Linked DNA regions of Homo sapiens: region 1 is linked to region 2. Evidence: promoter capture Hi-C in human tissues and cell types (Jung and others, 2019). All regions are on one chromosome and are shown on one strand. The core of a region is centred on a gene start or on the middle of the fragment in contact, and the rest is flanking DNA. Distances in the headings are between cores, read along the strand shown.

What was found. Contacts are between HindIII fragments. The study calls those that stand out against the background at their distance.
Region 1: a fragment that was not itself captured here is called in contact with the fragment with the promoter of GLTP in region 2 in 1 of the 25 tissues and cell types used here (adrenal gland).

The regions. Positions count from the first base shown.
Region 1 is chr12:109,620,149-109,623,590 of GRCh38, reverse strand. No RefSeq gene overlaps it. Among named protein-coding and RNA genes, the nearest start is that of MVK, 48 kb to the right of the region's middle. The HindIII fragment of the contact is 6,657 bases long and covers 1-3,442 here.
Region 2 is chr12:109,878,638-109,882,207 of GRCh38, reverse strand. It overlaps GLTP (glycolipid transfer protein), which reads left to right and starts at 1,667. Exons shown (of 5, transcript NM_016433.4): 1 at 1,667-1,936. The coding sequence starts at 1,834. It overlaps LOC124903012 (a long non-coding RNA gene), which reads left to right and starts at 807. Exons shown (of 3, transcript XR_007063455.1): 1 at 807-847; 2 at 1,034-1,093; 3 at 1,201-1,310. It also overlaps a transcript of TCHP not described here. RefSeq lists an enhancer at 584-1,085 and a silencer at 1,410-1,959. The HindIII fragment of the contact is 8,000 bases long and covers 1-3,570 here.

The DNA.
Region 1 (3,442 bases), core at 147-2,646, 260 kb after region 2:
GAAGAATCACTTGAACCTGGGAGGCGGAGGTTGTGGTGAGCTGAGACGGTGCCACTGCACTCCAGCCTAGGCAACAGAATGAGACTTTGTCTCAGGAAAAAAAAAAAAAAAAAAAAGAAGCCTGTTTGTTGGCCAGGCATGGTGGCTCACACCTGGGAGGACTTTGGGAGGCTGATGTAAGCAGATTGTTTGAGTCCAGGAGTAGTTCCAGACCAGCCTGGGCAACATGGGGAAATCCAGTCTCTACAAAAAATATAAAAATTAGCTGGGCATGGTGGTGGGCGCCTGTAGTCCCAGCTACTCGGGAGGCTGAGGCAGGAGAATGGCTTGAACTCAGGAGGCGGAGGTTGCAGTGAGCCAAGATGGCACCACTGCACTCCAACCTGGGCAACAGAGTGAGACTTCATCTCAAAAAGAAAAAAAAAATTAGCTGGGGATGATGGTGTGCACCTGTGGTCCCAGCTACTTGGGAGGCTGAGGTGGGAGGACCACCTGAGCCTAGGAGGTTGAGGCTGCAGTGAGCCATGACTGCCTCAATGCACTCCAGCCTAGGTGATAGAGTAAGACCCTGTCAAAAAAAAAAAAAGGAAAAGAAAGAAAGAAAAAAAGAAGAAAAAAGGAAAAAGAAAAAAAAAGAAAAGAAGCCTGCTTCTCAGGAGCAAACTCCTTCACCTGACAAGAAAAATTCCAGGCCTCCCTCCTCTGTCCAGGCTTAAATGACTTCAGGCTCAAAGCACCCCAGCCCTGCCATAGGACCCCCTACCTGACCCAGGGATTCCAAACCAGAGTCTACTGGTCAACCCAAATATAGGTGCACAGGGAATATGAATCTAGAGTTCCTCTAGCAGCTGTGGGGCCATTGTTGGACAGGGCAGACAATCTAGCCCAGGCCAGGGCTCAAGCTTGTACAATCAGGACCACTAGGAATAATATGAGACTCAGAAACCCCATCAGGCCTGGGTTCAAATCCTGACTCTGCATGGCACCAGCTATGTGACCTTGGGAAAGCTATTGAGCCTCCCTGAGCCTTAACTTCCCTTCTTTTGGAAACTGGAGAGCAAATATGCCTCCTAGGATGTCGCTAGAATCAAATATAATCATGGCTTTGAATTCTCCCTGTACCTAAAGGCTATACAGAGGTCCTTAGCAAAGTGTTTGTTGAATGAATGATTTTAAAGGACAATCTGAAAAGAGGTGGGGGAGGGGGGCATCAAAGGAAGCTATAGATCTCAGCCCAACCCCCGGCTCCCAAATCCCTCCCACTATACAGCCTGGGTCTCGGTGAAGCAGCAGCTGCAGTCCCTTCCTGGGGCGGGGACCCCCTTCCTCTGCTCTGAGCCCCTCCCCGAGCTGCAGGAGGCACAGATACATGTTCGGAGGGGGCATTATCTGTGCTCAGTTGACTGTAAACGTTTAAGCGGAATTGACTGTGTACTCAGCCACTTGCAAACACAACTAATCTTCATTGGGGCGACGGGAAGTGAAATATGTTATTGTCGGTGGCAGTAAATTACCCGTGCCAGACCTGGCGTGTGAGGCATTACGGGCCATGGCCGGCGCACTCCTTCACCCGGCCGCCACCCGTCCGCAATTCATTACTGCAAACGACCCTGGTCATCTCCTTGCCAGGCCTGGGGACGTGAGGCTGGCCACCAGCCTCCCAGGGCCTGGACCCCGCCCACCTTGGGCAGCAGGTGGGGAAGAGGGCCAAGGGGCCAGAGCCTGGCACTGATGCCTGGGCAGGAGATGTGAGAAGACCTTTGCTCATCAGCTTCTAGGTCGGCGACCAGATGGGGAGACTGAGGCACAGCAGAGAAAGGGATTTGATCCAAGGCACAGCTCTGCCACTTTCTAAGCCCCAGTTTCAGCACCCATAAAATGGGAATTCATTTATTGTTTAACATTTTTGCAAATCTCTGTAATGACTGGCTTAATAGAACACAGCTGGATTCTCATATGTGCTTTTGCATTCAGCTTGTTGCAACATGTTTTGGTTTAAGTGTGGGAAGAATATCTGGCTTCACACAGATATTTGGCTCAAAAAGGAAAGAGTATTTTAATAGCCTTCTCAGATAATTATGGATATCCTTCTTGGATACTAAACCAGATCTTCACAAGTGGTAGTTTCTCAATGGTTTGTTACAATATGGTATCTGAAACCACATCAATGAGCTCTTCCTACTCTGTTAAAACCCGCTGGTCTGCTTTGCACTTTGAATGGGTCTTTTATTCATTTTGTAACATGATGCATTGGTCATTGGAAAAAATACTGGTTTACTGAATTATGCATCTCTTCTAGATGATGTCACATTTCATAATACAATATCCAAAAAAGTCACATTCACTAATATACCACCAGTCTCTGGGAAAGTATTTAAGTAGGAAGCTGTCAAACCCACGGTGGCAGACACAAGTTCTCCAAAATTCTAATTTTTGCTTGCAAGTCAAATTTTATCATTGGCAACAAATACTGTCAGTTGACAGGCAACTTTGTTCATTTTTAAGAGAATATCTGCCAATGTCCCAGTCTGAAAGGCTATAGTTTGTTGGTTGGTTGTTCTTTCAAGTACAAATGGTGTTCCATGAAGAGTGGCTAGCGCAGCTTGCAACCCAGTCACACGGTGCTTGTCTCAAGCAACGACGGAGCCAGGAGAGAGGGTTCTTGTTGTACATACTTCCCATTTTGTCACACAGAATATTTAGAAGTGGCATGTTCAAAGGTTGAGATTTTTTTAATTAATACCTTTAAATTTTCTTTTTTTCTTTTTTTTGAGACAGGGTCTTGCTCTATCGCCAGGCTGGAGTGCAGTAGCATGATCTCGGCTCACTGCAAACTCTGCCTCGCGGATTCAAGCGATTCTCCTGCCTCAGCCTCCCAGGTAGCTGGGACTACAGGCGCCCGCCATCACACCCAGCTAATTTTTGTGTTTTTAGTAGAGACAAGGTTTCACCATGTTGACCAGGCTGGTCTCGAACTCCTGACTTCAAGTGATCCTCCCACCTCAGCTTCCCAAAGTGCTGGAATTACAGGTGTGAGCCACCACGCCCAGACCCTTTAAATTTTCATCAAGGGCATTCTTAAGTGAAACTGGCTTTTTTGCCAAGAGTATTTAAGATGAAGAAAGAGATGATTTCTCTCCCAGTGTGGTTCCACTGCTCTGGTCGATGCTACGAAACCAGCAGTTGTAGCCACCCATGACTTTTGCACCCTGAGTGCAAATGTCAACATGGTGAAAAAGGCCAATAATATCTTTGTATTGTCTGTAGCCGTGCTACCCTGAATGTGCCCAATTTTGTCTGCATCTCCAAAGCTACGTAGGGTCAGGCCTGGCAAGTACTTTGATGAAAGGACATCTTTGCGTTATGATGAAAACAGTTTTGACCTCCCAGAAACCCTGAAAGAGTCTTGGGGACCCGCAGAGGTCTGTGGATCACACTTTGA
Region 2 (3,570 bases), core at 418-2,917:
TCCTACTTCTCCTCTAGGTCTCAGCTCAAATATCACCTCTTCAGAGGTACTGCTCCCAAACCCCTACATCCGATCTCAGCCAACAGGCTTCAGTCATCCTCCGTCACTACACTGTTTTATTTTCTTCACATACTCATCAGTGTCTGAAGTTGTCTTACCAATTTGTGTATTGCATTGTGTTGTGTTCCCAACCAGATTGTCAGCTCCACAAGGGCAGGGATTTTGCTGTATCATTCACTTTATCCTCAGTGCCCAGTGCAGTGCATGACACATAGTGGTGGAGGGTGGGGGAGGGGTGGGAAGGATGGCAAATGTTTATTCTGGAATGAATAAGAGGCTCTCAACAATGGTGTGTTAGATTTTTGCATAAGCTGGGCATTGGGTTTAGGACATAAGCATCTAGGTGGGTTGTGGCTGAGATGACTTGTGATTCAAGGTGTGAGAAGCTGGACCCTGGGCTGTTGGAGAGACATTAGGTTTGGGAAACAAGTGTCCAGGTTGTGGGTGAATTGGTATAAACTGGGCTGGCTCCAGCTGTTACCAGTAGAAGGTGTCCAGGTACTTGGCATCTTGGAGAAAACACACAAACGAAGCAAGGAAAGCAAAAGCAAGGATTTACTGAGAACGAAAAGTCCACCCCACAGTTTGGGAGCAGGCTTGAGCGTAGAGGCTCAAGAGCTCTGCTTACAGAATTTTCTAGGGTCTCAATACTCTAGAGGTTTCCCATTGGTTACTTGGTGAATATTCTATGTAAATGAAGAGAATGAAGTGAAGTCACAGAGTCATTTACTCAGAATGTGCCCTATTGCAAATGGAGAGGATGTGCAAATGGAGAGGATGTTACTTGGTGGGAGAGGATGAATGTGAAGTTACAAAGTATAAATGGAGAGGATGTTTCTTGGAGTGTGTGGTCTGTGTAAATGGAGAGGATGAATGTGAAGTTACAAAGTGTAAAGGGCGTGAATGGAGAGGATGAAGTGAAGTTGCAAAGCCGTTTACATTCCTGTCATTGCTAAGGTGCTTTTTGATTTAGGTCTAGGAAGTCAGCCTTATGTTCCCTGCCTCCAGGCCCTATTTTTCTGCCTCACAACAGGTAACATCAGACTGTTGAGGGCAGACTGGACCCCAGATTTCGGGAAGCAGGAGTTGTCCAGCAGGGCAGTGGCTGAGTTAGACTGTGACTTCAGCAGTGTTCAACAGGTATAAGGTCATTGAAGACCAAGAATCAAGCAATCGAGCGTCCTCGTCGGTTGTAGCGAAAGAGAACCGTGACCAACAGGAGAGCAGTGTCCACCCAGGTCACTTGGGGTTACTGGGGTACAATTTTGGGGGAAACGGGGGTCCTGGGGAGCGTTGGCTGGGTGGGGCTGTAACCCGAGCTGGTGGGCGGGTTGTGAGCTGTGACCTGGCCCGAGTCGGCCCGCCCGGATTGGGGGGCCAAACCGGGGGCGGCGGGAGGCACACCTGGGGAAGACTCACCTGGGAGCGGCTCACTTGGGCCCTCCGGGACCCATGAACCGGCGCACCTCCTCTGCGTCCCGCCCCCGGCCGGCCCCCCGGCCAATGGGGGCGCGGAGACCTCGGCGGCGGGCGCGGATTGGGAGCCGGTGAGCGGGGGCGGGGCGGCGCGCCCGGCAGTTTAGGCGCTCGGCCGGCGGGCGGCGCTGAGCGCTCGGCTACGAGGGCGCCGTGCGGGCGGAAGTGGCGACGCTGGCGTCCCCGGAGCCTGCGGCGGGCGGCTGTGACGGCCCCGGCGCTGACGGCGGCGGCCGGGGGGGCGGTGTCGACGCCCGCGGCGCCGGCTGGGGCATCACCGCGGGCCTCGACCCCGAAATGGCGCTGCTGGCCGAACACTTGCTGAAGCCGCTGCCCGCGGACAAGCAGATCGAGACCGGGCCCTTCCTCGAGGCGGTGTCCCACCTGCCGCCCTTCTTCGGTGAGCCGGAATGGAGGGGGGAGGCGGCCCGCAGCCCCACGCGCACCCGAATCCTCCTTCCCCCGAGCATCCCCTAACCATCTCTGCCCTAGACACCCCTAAGTACTGTTTCCCCAGGCACCCAAGATCCTCTTTCCCTCCACTCACCCTAAATTCTCCCTTTCCCGGACCACTCCCAAGTCCTCTCCGCTCTAAACATGTCACATCCTGCCTGTCCTCCCCAAATCCTCCCTCTCCCTAGACACCTCACAGTCCTACATATCCCCCAAATGCCCCCTGATCATCCGTGCCCCCAACACGGATGATCTTCCATCTCCCTTAGGCATTCTGTAATCCACCATCTCCCCCAAAGCCTCCTGCCCCTTCTTCCCCAAAGTCCTTCATCCCTGGCGCTTTCTGATGGCTCTCAACTCGCTCCCCTTACAATGAATCCCCCCATTTCATAAGCCTTCTCTTTGAACGCTTCCAGCCTCTCCCTCATGGGACCTACAAACCCTTCCTTCTTCCCTCAGAATTCGCCCATTCCAGATCAAAGACTCCCATCTCCCCCTCCAAGGGTAGGAAGCCTGGTGAGGCGGGGACAAGGAGAGGGTTTTGAAGATGGAGTTGCAAAATTCCAGGGCCTCTTTCTAGGGGAAACCACCTAAAGTTTTTCCTCCTTTTAGGACAGGGGTGAGGGTTGTCGGGGGAGCTGTTTTGTGAGGTGACATCAGACATACAGAGCTTGGCACCAATTCCTCCCTCAGTTTGGGCTCTACGAGAGGAAGCCCCTCCCCTGTATGTCGTGTGGAAGTTCCTGGGCGCATTGGGAAGGCGGTCCACTTTCAGACCCTCTTCCCGCACTCCCTCAGCCTAGCCCAGTCCAGCCAAGGCCCCAGATGGAAAATGGGAACTAGAAGCCAGCACCACTGCCCCTGCCCTTTGCCTTTTGGGTCCCGGGTAAAGGGTGCAACCTGAGCCTCTATTCTCCTTCTCCATGTGGGCTCTGTCCTGTCCTGCTGGTTCACTTGGTGGCCTTGCAGGAAAATACCAGCCCCCAGGGCAGAGTCCACCTGAAACCCAAAGACAGGAGATCTTAAGACAGTCCGACTTAGTGGGCAAAGAAGGCTTGTTAGGGGTGGTAGTTCCCACAGTGTCCTGAGCTCTGGGATGGTTGTGGTTACCTGGAGGCTATAGTTCCCCTCCTTCACCTCGTGAGCCTCAGTGTCCCCAGCTGTGAAACGGGGATGCTGATCTCCTAGGGCAGCTGTGAGGAGTCGATGAGGTGGTGTGTGTAAAGTACCGAGGCCGTAAGTGCCAAATAGGTCTTCGCTGTAGGGGGTGTGGTTTTAAGTTCCTGAATCCAGTTTTGGTTCCTTGCTAGAGTGATTAATCGGTGTTTGAGGGAGTGCAATTGTCTGGTGTGTATGATTCCCAGACCTGGGTAAGCAACCTGAGAGCAAGGGCTTGGTTTTTTACATCCACTCTGTGTCCTCAGTGCCCAGAACAGTGCCTGGCACATAGCAGATGCTCAGTCAATACTGCTGAATGCACAAAACTTTCTTATTATCAGTGTCACAGTCTTGAGATAATACTGACTCTCCAGGTGGGGGCTTGGGAGCGAACCAGCTCTAGCATTGAAAAGTTGTTTAATT